Regions from separate parts of the Homo sapiens genome. Here region 1 is linked to region 2. Evidence: promoter capture Hi-C in human tissues and cell types (Jung and others, 2019). All regions are on one chromosome and are shown on one strand. The core of a region is centred on a gene start or on the middle of the fragment in contact, and the rest is flanking DNA. Distances in the headings are between cores, read along the strand shown. Region 1 overlaps EOLA2-DT (EOLA2 divergent transcript). Region 2 holds the start of MTMR1 (myotubularin related protein 1).

Region 1 (6,337 bases), core at 1,908-4,407, 720 kb before region 2:
TATGGTGGACTGTATAAGGCAGTAGCAGTGAGGACAGAGAGGAAGAGGCAGATGCAAAATGGTGAAACTCTTACGATGTTGTGGGGAGGATTGGTGAGGGAGAGAAAAGTGTCTAAGGTAATTCTCCAGGTTTCTGGCATGGCTGTCTGAGTAGATGGTGGTATTTTTGACCAAGTTCAGGAATGAACAGTGGAGATAGAATGTACAAAAAAATTGGATAAATTCAGCTTGGAACCTGCTGAATTTGAGGTACTGTGGGACTTCCAGAGGGGAGAGCAGCTATTTTGTTCTGGAACTCAGGATGTGTCTAGGCTGGAAATACAGGTCAAGGCCTCTATGTCTGGGCAGTTTAAACCCAAGTGAATAGTAAGACATCTCTCAGAGAGAATGTGTGGAGAGTGCATCTTCAATAATTCTACCCCCTTTCGACTTCAAAGGCTGTTCCCATGGGGAAGCAGAAGCAGCGTATTTCTCTCTCTCTCTTTTTAATGTTTGAGGCAACAAGGGATACTGAAAATGCTATAAAAGGTGGAGTTAGAAAACCTGAGTTCAAGCCCTGCTTCTGACACTTCACCACTCTGCAACCGTCAGTAGTTCCTGAGCCTCTCTTAGCCTCCAGGTCTTCATCTGTGAAACAAGGGTAGTAGGAATAACTGCTTCACAGGATTATTAAGATAGTCCAATGAGAATGTGTATGTGGAAAGTGCTGTGTAAAGAACCATAGAAACATCATTTTTGTTGTTGTTGTTGTTTGTTTGTTTGTTTTGTTTTTTTCCCCTAGAAACTTGGACCAATATGTAGGAATTACGGGGAGACAGATTTGGTCCAATATAAGGAAAGACTAATACTTTGACTGTTGGATGATGGGAAGAGCTTTGGGAGATGGGAAGCTCTGAGGCTCTGGATATCCTTAAGCAAAAGCCAGGTTTCTGGGCATATGCTGAGCGTTTTGTTGTCAGGGGTTGGGTCATCCTGCATGACCTCTGAGTTACCTTTCAGGCTCAGATAGAATTTGAGTTACTAGAACACTTATCTACCTATTTTCTGAAATTTTCTACACTAAGTAGATTTTTTAAATTGTAAAAGCAATACAAGCGCATGGTCTTTCCCTTTGACTCTCTTAAAGTACTGGGCATTTTGGATCCTAAGTGGAGACTTGGTTTATATACCCTGAATAATGGGGCAAACTGCCTCATGTCTTACTGCATGAGGCATTTATGGACAGACATTTTCTTAATGTTCTTTAATGAGATCTCTTTAAAATAATAATTTTTTTCTTATTTTCAAGCAGAAATGATATTATAAAAAGCTAACAAAATATTGCCAAGTAGAGGTCTTGATCGAGTATACTCCAATGAGTAGGTAAAGGTCATTTGAAATCAGCACACTAATTATTTATATGCAAATGAATTTGTTAGAGAGCTTGGAAAGAGTTGTTCTCTGAACTGGGTTAAACATCCCCTAAGAGCTCATGTTTATACTCTTAATTTACTCAGAAACCTGTTGTTGCTCTTTCTTTTTTTTTTTTTAATTATACTTTAAGTTTTAGGGTACATGTGCACATTGTGCAGGTTAGTTACATATGTATACATGTGCCATGCTGGTGCGCTGCACCCACTAACTCGTCATCTAGCATTAGGTATATCTCCCAATGCTATCCCTCCCCCCTCCCCCAACCCCACCACAGTCCCCAGAGTGTGATATTCCCCTTCCTGTGTCCATGTGATCTCATTGTTCAATTCCCACCTATGAGTGAGAATATGCGGTGTTTGGTTTTTTGTTCTTGCGATAGTTTACTGAGAATGATGGTTTCCAATTTCATCCATGTCCCTACAAAGGACATGAACTCATCATTTCTTATGGCTGCATAGTATTCCATGGTGTATATGTGCCACATTTTCTTAATCCAGTCTATCATTGTTGGACATTTGGGTTGGTTCCAAGTCTTTGCTATTGTGAATAATGCCTCAATAAACATACGTGTGCATGTGTCTTTATAGCAGCATGATTTATAGTCATTTGGGTATATACCCAGTAATGGGATGGCTGGGTCAAATGGTAGACATTTATGCAGCCAAAAAACACATGAAAAAATGCTCATCATCACTGGCCATCAGAGAAATGCAAATCAAAACCACTATGAGATATCATCTCACACCAGTTAGAATGGCAATCATTAAAAAGTCAGGAAACAACAGGTGCTGGAGAGGATGTGGAGAAATAGGAACACTTTTACACTGTTGGTGGGACTGTAAACTAGTTCAACCATTGTGGAAGTCAGTGTGGCGATTCCTCAGGGATCTAGAACTAGAAATACCATTTGACCTAGCTCTTTCTTTAATTGATAGAGGAAAGGTGAAATATGCCAGCCATGACTGAGTTATCACAAATTTAGAAATGGCATGAATTGAATTTATACTTTCCTGTGTTTATTTTATTGCCAATCACTGATGTGACACACATTTGCTAAACAAGTTCTAATTTTCTGGGTAACTTTCCCTACAGAAAGCTTATTTCGCTAAATGAAAGATCTCTACTCATGCCATTTAATGAGGAATTATCTTTATGATTGTTGAGGTGTCTTCCTGGCTCTTTGAAAAAAATCACAAAAACAATAGCCCCAAATAATAGTGATTTTATACCTAGAAAATATTCTACAAGGAATAAGTTGCTGTAAACCATATAGAGGTGAACAATTTTGAAAAGTCAAGAATTTAGGAAAGTACATTCAGTCTTAATTATGGTAGAATAAAATTTCATCTTCCTGATGCTTCCATAGGCCCTTCAAGATGTTTGCAAAGCCCTTGGTCAGCTTTTGATTATTTTTTCATTGTACTGTATCTATGAAAAAGGTTGCCATTGGGAAAGCATAAGTAGGTTGTGTTTTGCAATTCCTTCTTGTGGAAGGAAATTGATAGAACCTTCTAGTTGATTTTTTGAAAAAGTAAAGATGTTTAAATACTCTTGCCTTCCCTACCTTACTCCACACTTCTGGTTCTCATCTACAAGAACTAGTGCACCAAGGGAGAGAGTACTCCAGCTGTGGCGTCCTGGACTTTGAATCCTGGGATGAGGGGGCAGGTAGGGTAGAGGATTCAAGAACAGAGGAATTATGGAGGGATGGAAGCTGGGAGGGAGGAAGAAAGAGTAAGAATCTAAAAATGAACCAAGGGAGGAGCCAAAGAGTGTTGGTCTTGAGCCAGATCACAGGCAGTTGGGTCAGGGTTAGAGGTAACAGTTGTAAGGAACAAGTCTAAGCCAGCCAAACCCTGGTTGAGCCATGGTGTCCGACCTTGTGGGGGACCCCTCAGTATCTTTCTTAATGCAACACATTGTTAAACTTTGGTCTGACCCCAGGGAGAGGCTGAGCAGCTCAGTAAGCAGGCCATTCTTTAAAAGCCTGAGTGTCTATTCACTGACAACCCTGTGGATCTTTCTTTGTATCAGTAAATTACCCTATACAACTCATGTCCAGACATTTTATAGCAGTCTCACTTTTGGTGGGGGTGATATAGTGTGCTGGGAAGAGCTCTCCATGGAGATTTGTGGGAGAGGGGGCAAGAGGCTTGGGTTTTAGCCAGTGCTCTGCCACTAATTGGCCATGAAACATTAGGCAAGTCATCTAAATGTTTGGTGCCTCAGTTTCCCCATATATACAATGAGGATCAAGGAGGCACAGATGTATAGTTCATCTATCAGTTGTGAGTTCTAAAGCATAGAAAAGAATTCTGTGGCTTTGGCATTTGGCTTTTTTGACTTGAGAAAAATAAATATACCCTAAGCACTACATTTGAGTTGAACCTATGAAAACCCTGAGAGTCAAAACTAAACTATAAATAGTAAAATCCTTTCCCCAGCTTCTTCGTTAGAGCCAGGAGTGTTGAAGACAGTCAACTTTTTAGCATTTGTGGAAATGGCAGGAAGCAAATTGAATAGGGTTGAACAGTTGTGCTCCTTGACCTCTGAGATGCAATATCTTACATACCAGTACTAAACCAGAGGTTCACTGTGTTCCAGGGACTCTGATGGAGTTGATAGACCCCCTAGTGACGCACATACCACCAGCAAGCTGGGTGACCTTCCTCCTTTGCCAAAATCACACATGGCTCATTTGCTGAGGGCTACAGTAAAATTAAGTGCTTCTTCTTGCTTCTTCTGAACTGGCACCCTGTTGGTCCTGCCAGTGTGAGACAAAAGATGTAAGGGCTACCAGTGGACTTTAAAATGTTAATTTTAAAAATAGCCCTTAATTATTAAAAGTAGCCCTAATTATAGCTTACTATAGGCAGGCCACACGTTTCTGAATAGTTTAACAAATGAGGAAATAAGTGAAGAGTTGATAAGTGCTGGTAGATTCATTTGCATGCTTTCCTACACCCAAATGGTAATACTGCAACACCACAGTCTTCAGCCAAATTACGAGTACAGCAAATTAACACAATTTGTTAATTTCCTTTTTAATTACACTACGAACAGGAGTATTTCTGTATTTTGGCTTTTTTTTGACATAGAGACTTCATCTTAAAAGCAGAAAGACTTTAATATAGCTAAATCTATATCTATAACAAATAAAGCTTGTTTCATTTTCCTTACCCAGCTGGCTAAGATTTATACATTAATTATTCAACCGATGCATCTTAAACATCCTAGTTAAAATACACACTGTTGGCCAGAAATTGTTAAACCTCCAGCATACTTTTGTTTGCCTGTAAGGAATAAATACTTAGAACTGTAAATGGGTAAACTTAATCTTTCCATGTGGTGAGGTCAACAGAACTCATGGTGAACATACAAAGAATAGGGGACTAATTATTATTGAGATTCAGGTAAGTGATTTCTTAGGCATTTTAGCTGTCATGCTGTGGAATAATTGTAAACTCACCAGGAAGGAATTGCAAAACACAACCTACTTATCCTTTCCCCAGTGGCTATATAGAATTTTTTTCTGTCCTGCAGTTTGTGCCAACTCTAATCATTAAAAGGAATGTTATTTTAAGTATTGCTTCCTCAATAACAGTGTTTGACAGAAACTCTACAGAATGGTGGCTTTGCCCAGAGTGTGGCTTCAGTATGCTAGTGTGATTTAGGCAATCAGAGCTATTGGTAATGGAATGCAGATCTCTGTAGCAATTTTATTTAAAGTTTTGCCTAGTTAATATTATATCCAACTAATGTAACCATCTGTATCCGGCCCCATCAGTGACAATATAAAACTGTTAAACACCATTTCATAGGCATTAAGTGCTTTGGCTTTGGTATAATTTTATGATCATGTCTTATTCTTATTGTAGTACTTCATTACTATCTTTTTTTTTTTTTTTTTTTTTTGAGACGGAGTCTCATTCTGTAGCCCAGGCTGGAGTGCTGTGGTGCAATCTCAGCTCACTGCAACCTCCACCTCCCAGGTCCTGGTTCGAGCAATTCTCCTGCCTCAGCCTCCCGAGTAGCTGGGATTACAGACACACACCACCATGCCCAGCTAATTTTTGTATTTTTAGTAGAGACGGGGTTTCACCATGTTGACCAGACTGGTCTTGAACTCCTGACCTTGTGATCCGCCCGCCTCGGCCTTCCAAAGTGCTGGGATTACAGGTGTGAGCCGCCGCGCCCAGCCACTATCATTTAAATGTCAGTAACAGCAGCAGCAAGTATTCTAGGCATAGCACAGAGACCAAGGTAATGGGTCTCCCAGCCTTGTGACTAAATTCTTCCTGCCTCTAGGTCTTCACGTAGTCTGTTGCCTTGTCCAGGAATGCCCTTCAAACCTTGGTTTAAAGGCCTTTTCAGATAAGTCTCTCTTTTTCCCCCTAGTATTCTTGATCACTGTACCTATTTGTCTTCTCCATAGTATTTATCACAATTTAAAATTATACTTGTATTTTTTAAAAAAACTTGTCTCCCCCACTAGAATGTAAGCTATACAAGGACAGAGACCATGCCTATATTTTATTTATTATTTTACAAAATTTTTATTTTTTAATTGTAAATTAACAAATTGTAGTTACATATATTTATGGGGTACAAAGTGATGTTATGATTTATGAAGACAATGTGGAATGATTAAATCAAGCTAATTAACATATCCACCACCTCAAATATTAACCCATATATCCTTTTGCGTAGCAAAGTAAGTAGGGACTGTAAATATTTTTTGGGAGGGACTTTAAGTAGTTTAATGAATAAATGAGGCAATGTGGTATAATTATAAGGAGGCAGAGGCCCTATATGCTGAGGACTTCCAAGTTAATCTTGTGGTTACATTTGACTTGCCTAGGCCTGTGTGACTTTATACCAGTATAACCAAAGGCTTGCTGGACATTTCTACCCGATGACCCCA
Region 2 (6,179 bases), core at 1,839-4,338:
CTGGCAGTTAGTGCTGGCTTCTGGCCATGCTGCCTGGGGAACTCAGCTAGGGCTATTGGCTGAGAGCTTTGGTTCTCTTCCATATGGGCCTCTCCCTGTGGCTGCTTGGGCTTCCTCAGAGTATGGCAGCTGACTTCCAAGAAGGAGTATGCACAGAAAGCAAACTGGAAGTTGCAAATCCCTTAAGGGTTAGCCTTGGAAATTATACAGCATCACCTCTGCTACATTCTATTGGTCAAAGGGGTTACAGGGCCAGTCCACATTCAAGGAGAAGGTAAACAGAATCCACCTCTTGATGTATGAGTGGTAAGATCACCTTGCAAAAGAGTGTGTGGGATGGGGGATATTATTGCAGCAGTCTTTGGAAGCACAATCTATCAAATGGACGTAGATGGGGGACTATACAATAGTATTTCTCCAAGTGCAGCAAGCCCCGCATCAGAATCATGGGAGCATTTGCTGAAAATGCAGACTGGGGCTGATTCTTGCACACTAACATTTGAGATCTGGTGAGCTGCAGAACAAAGCCCAAACTTCTTGGCCTACCACCAGTCCAGATCCTCACTTATCTTGTCTGACTTTATGCTCCAGTAACACTCGATTTCTTGGCATTCTCTTGCACATAATAAGCTATTTAACCTACAGATAGAGTTTGGATGTTTGTGCCGTCCAAATCTCATGTTGAAATGTGAGCCCTAATGTTGGAGTTGGGGCTGAGTAAGGGGTGTCTGGGTTGCAAACTGGATTGTGAACATCCTGAAGGTGGACCCCTCAGGAAAGGCTTTGTGCCCTCCCCGTGGTAATGAGTGAATCCTCGTTCTATGAGTTCATGCAAGAGCTGGTCGTTTGAAAGAGTCTGGTGCCTCCCTCACCTTTCACTTGCTCCTTCTCTCACCATTTGACATGCCTGTTTCCTCTTCGCCTTCCACCATGATTGTAAGCTTGCTGAGGCCCTTACCAGAAGCAGATGCCAGCACAATGCTTCTTGTACGGTCTGCAGAACTGTGAGCCAAAATAAACTTCTTTTCTTTATAAATTACCAGGTCTCTGGTATTCCTTTACAGCAAAGCAAAACAGATTAATATACCTACTAATCCACACCTTTGCCCATAACTGTGCCTTCTGCCTGGAATAACTTGACTCCTTTGCCTCATCAAGGATTTACTCATCTTTAAAGATTCAGTTTTATGTCACCTTTTTGGGGAAGTTTTCCTGACCTCCTCTTCTCCTATGGATTGGGGTAGGTGTTCCACATCCTGTGCAATTGTCCCCATTATAGCACTTGCCAACTTGTAATGTCATTGTTAATTTGTCTGTCCCCTTCACTGGATTGTGAACATCTTAGGCAGGGATATGTCAGATTCATCTCTGTCCTCTAAATCCTAAGTGTACTTAACTGAATTGGAAGTATGACAGTGTCACAGTGAATTCCTCTTTGGCCTAATGTTTCTTAAAGAATATGGTACTTAAAATATGCTTAAAGTTGCACTGTTTTCTTTCTGACAATTCTCAGCACAGCTAAGATGCTTGCAGCTACTTGTAACAAAATACCCAACTAAAAGTGGGTGTCTTAGTGTGCTTAGGCTGCCAAAACAAAATACCATAGACTGGGTGGCTTAAACAACAGAAATTTTCTCACAACTCTGGAGGCTGGAAAGTCCAAGATTAAGTGTCCAGCAGGGACCTAGTAAGGGCTCTGTTCCTGGCTTGCAGATGGCCACCTTCTTGCTGTGTACTCACACGGCCTTTTCTCAGTGTGTGCATGTGAGTGCATGAGATCAAGCTCTCTGGTGACCCTTCTTAAAAAGCACCAGTTCCATCAGACTAGAGCTTGGCCCTCATGACCTAATTGCCTCTCAAAGACCCCATCTCCAAATACCATCACACAGGGAATTAGGGCTTCAACATATGGACTTCAGGGGGATGAAAACATTCAGTCCATAACAGTGGGTTAACCATTTGATTTAATAATTTTAGAAAGCCAGCAACCTGCAGTCGGTGATTCTCCAGTGTGAGATAGGAGCTATTATTGTCTGGGGATCTTCCTTTCCTTCCTCCTAGCCCTCCTCACTCTGTCATCTTCTTACCCCAGGCTCACCTCCTCTTGTGCGTAAGATGGCTGTCGGGGCTTCAGGCATCATATCCTCAAAGTTCAGTTTGAAGTTATTAAGCTGGTGGGGCAGGATGGGTCTGGGATGGGCATGAGTAACTCCCTGTCTGCAGATCTGCCTTTTAACAGTGAGCAAATTGTTCCCTTTATATCTTCTTTTCCAGACCTGGGTCGCAGGCCTCCTGTCTACACCCAGAGCAATCACAGGCAAAGAGGCTTAATCACGAGCCACACACCCACTCCCAACTTAATCAGGGGTGAGGTGAGAGGGGATGAGCTGTTGGATATTCGAACCCAAACAAAATGAGCAAGGAAATAAATCTAGCCCAGAAAGCAAATGTCCTAAATGCCTCACCAAGATATTGGCTTGATGTTCATAGCAGTGATTTTTTAATCAACAGAAGTTAAATGTTACTCTTAACATAAACCATGGGCGGAAGCTCCGAGGGCGGCATCAGAACACTTGGTTGCCCTACAGATGGCAAGGGGGTGGGTTTGTGGCGGGGCGGCGGGGTGCGTATGGAGGGGGAGAGTGGAGGGAAGAATGGGGTGGGGAGGAATTGCTAAAATGCACGGAATTGCTCCTGCTTCAAGATGTCAAGACCGAGGGAGCTTGAGCTGTTCTATACCTTTTCCGGGAAGGACAACTGAGGTGGGAAATCATTTTTGATACTTGAATGTCTTCAAACTTCTTTTTACACCCCACGTCTCTGCAGTCAACCCGGTGTGACTATAGAGTGAAGCACGCTACGCATAATCCGTTTGGGGATTCCGAACCCCAGTGGCTCTGTACGCACCCAGGTCGCTGGAGCAGGAGGTCCCAGATCCCCGCTGTAAGGCTCCGTGGGCGAGCGCCCAGGTGGGGCTGGGCGAGGTGGGGGTTCCCGGCGCCGGCCCCGCGCGCCGCCCTCCCCGCCCCCGCTCCCGCCCCCCGACCCCCGCGCGCGCGGCCTTGTGGGTAACGCGGGGCCGCCAGGTGACAGCTAATGGCGGCGGCCGCCTGAGGCGGGCGGGCGGTATAGAGCGGGCGGCAGGAGGCAAGCAGCGAAACCTTCCCGGCCGCCGCTCCCGTCCCGACGGCGGCTTCCCCAAGGCGGCAGGACTCGGCGCGCCATGGACAGGCCGGCGGCGGCGGCGGCGGCGGGCTGCGAGGGCGGCGGGGGCCCGAACCCGGGGCCGGCGGGCGGCAGGAGGCCTCCTCGGGCCGCGGGGGGCGCCACCGCCGGCTCCCGGCAGCCCAGCGTGGAGACCCTGGACAGGTAAGCGGGGCCCGGGCTGCCCCGGCCTCCCGCGCCCCGACTCCCGAGGGCCCCGCGCGAGGCCAGCCCGCCCCCTCCCCGCGCGCTGCGCAGGGCCTGGCGGTGGCGGGGTGGGCGGCCCCTCTTCATCCCCTCTGGGCCCTCCTCCCCCCCACCCCCGGAAACCTCAGCGCCCCATCCGGGGACTGCTGCCCTCGGACCTGCTGCGGGCCGCGCACCTGGCTCACTTCCGCCCCGAGAGCCCCAGCTCCTGGAACCCCGGGAGGGGCTTCGCAGCTGTCAAACCACTTCCGGCGCCGCCACCTGCTGCCCTTGGCGATCGCTTGGCTGTCCCTGCCCAGGCCACCAATCCTCTTGGGAGGGAGATCCCACCCGGGCTCTCCTCTTCTAGCATCACCTTGCCTCGTGTGGTTTTAAGACCCCAATTCTGCTGTGGCTGCTTAGGGTCTTTGATGGGGGGTTGGGAGTGAGGACGGGGAGATGGGACCCCGCGGGCGTGGGAGCTGGTGCAGATCGAGGCAAAAATCTGAGATGGAAAACGTCCAAACTGCTCAGGAGGCAAGAAAACAGAACCATTTACTTTCAGTTCTTCACACTTTGAGGGAACCAGTTTATTGTTTTCATGAACACACAAGCAAGCCTACTGCTTCTGAGGCAGCTGCAGAACTAAGAGAAATCAGTTAGAAACATAAAGTGACCGTGTCGAACTGGGAGGGGCCACCGCCTCCTCCGACGACAAGAGATGGCCTATCGTGTAACCCGGAACATCCAGTTTTCCCACAACTTGGCCATTTCCCTGACACCAGAGTGCACTCAGGCAGCATGCACTGTTGGAATGTAGCTCAGTCAGTTTTACATGCCCATTCCTGCCTGTCTTGGTCATCCCATTGTGCCAAACTTTTGGGAGTTTCCAAAAGCACAGAAACAAGAAACATTCCCTTCACTTTTGTTTCTACCTCAGTGTAATTACAATATATTTTAATAAATTAATCACCCAAGTGGTTAGTGTCACTGAAAACCAGTCACAGCTAAGACAGCACTTGAAATGGTGAGGACTTCACTCATCTGCAAATATTCAACCACACACGAGGTCTGGGCGATTCAGAGAATAGCACAACACGGCTTTTGCTGCCTTACCATTTTGCTAGACTTACCATCTAGTGGAGAATACAAACCAACCAACAGTGGAAATCGAATGTGATAAATGAGATAGGTGGTAGAGGCGAACACAGAAGTACTCAGGATGGGCATGCATCAGAATCATTTAAGAAGCCAAAGGAGACCAGAATGTGTCACCCCCAAATATGCCTCATCTTCTGGTTTCCTTCAGAGATTTTGATGATCAGGGAAAGCCTGAGAAAGCTGACATTTGAGTAATGCCCCCAAAGAGGCGAGGGATCCAGCCATACAGATACCTGGGGGTGATAGTATTCTAGTCAGAGGCCTGTGCAAAGCCCCTGAGGTGAATGTGAGCCAAGTGTTCCTAGATCAGCGAGGAGACTAGGTGTCACTAGCAGGGAGGGAGCTAGGGAGAGACAAGTAAGGGATGACGTTAGAGAAGTCACAGAGCCAGATGGTGGAGAGCCTCAGAGGCCATGGGGAGCCACTGGGGACTTTGTGCAGAGGAGTGACATCATCTGTTGTAGATTTCAGTAGGCTCTCCATGGTGCTATGTGGACAATAGAGTGAAAGGGGAAGGAGCTGAAGCAGAGACTGTCAGTAGGAGGCTATTGTAGTAAGCCAAGTGAGATGGTGGTCCAGAGTGGAGCGGAGGAGGGGAGAAGTGGTCAGATACTACATGTAATTTGAAGACCTGCAGGGTAGAGCCAATGGGGTTTGCTGAAGATTGGTTGGTTGGTATGAGAGAAGAATCTGGGAGAATTCCAAAATTTTAGCTTGTGGGAAAATTGTGTTGCTGAGATGGAGAAGTCTTTCTAAGGTGGAGCAGGGTTAGAAAATAGCAGGCTCTTCGCTCTGGACATATCAATTTTGAGATGCCAATTATATGTCCCAGAATAGATGTCAAAGATATAGTTGATCTATCTGAGCCTGGAGTTCAGGGTTGTCTGGGCTGGAGATTCAAACTGGGGAGTCATGGGCTTATAGATGAGGCTTAAATTCATGAGGCAGGTGGAGTTCACAGAAGAATGATGGAGGTCTGGAAAAGGGAATTGGGCTAGGAATAGGGCTGGGTGGATTTTCAAGATGCTTACCAGGTAAGAGTGACCCGACATGGTGAGCATTCAGATGTGAGGGGGGAGTGCCGGGTGGACTCCAAGGCAAACCTCAGCTTTCTAGCGTGTGGGGGCCGGATAACTGGCTGTGCTGCGCCCTGAGTTAGGAAACACAGGAGCAGAGTAGGTTGCGGGGCTGAGCGGCTGATGCTGGTTTAGACAGGTTGAATTGGCAGGGTCTCTGGGCCAGACTAGTGGACAGGTCTTGTAGGAACATCAGCATTGAGATCAGGAGAGTCCAGGTTGGAGAAACAGAGCTGGGAGCCTCCAGCCTGTAAGTAGTTATTGACACCAGGAGTATAGAGGGCAATTGCACAGACTACAGAGAAGGGATGGGGGAGGAATCATGGCCTCCTTTCTCAGTTCTGTCAGCTCAACAAGCTCAGATTCACACTTTTCTTTGAAGAGTGACCTCTAGAATGGAACCTGGCTCTATGGGTGGGACTTGGCCATGTCCCTGGGACTATGGGGCCTTCACTTCTCTTCTGAATACTGTAATTAATAATGAGGAAGCTGTGGTCCTGTAAGAGGATGTGTCTTGCCAAAGATCATGGAGTTAGCTGGTGACAGAAGCAG

The links. The method cuts DNA at HindIII sites, captures the fragments that hold promoters and counts their contacts. A contact is called where the count stands out against the background at its distance.
Region 1: a fragment that was not itself captured here is called in contact with the fragment with the promoter of MTMR1 in region 2 in 2 of the 25 tissues and cell types used here (dorsolateral prefrontal cortex and hippocampus).

What each region holds. Positions count from the first base shown.
Region 1 is chrX:149,972,301-149,978,637 of GRCh38, forward strand. All of the region lies in intron 9 of EOLA2-DT (EOLA2 divergent transcript), which reads left to right. Among named protein-coding and RNA genes, the nearest start is that of EOLA2-DT, 37 kb to the left of the region's middle. The HindIII fragment of the contact is 5,103 bases long and covers 607-5,709 here.
Region 2 is chrX:150,690,308-150,696,486 of GRCh38, forward strand. MTMR1 (myotubularin related protein 1) reads left to right here and starts at 3,089. Exons shown (of 16, transcript NM_001306144.3): 1 at 3,089-3,369. The coding sequence starts at 3,224. RefSeq lists silencers at 3,020-3,089, 3,400-3,539 and enhancers at 4,433-4,532, 4,553-4,632. The HindIII fragment of the contact is 13,070 bases long and covers 1-6,179 here.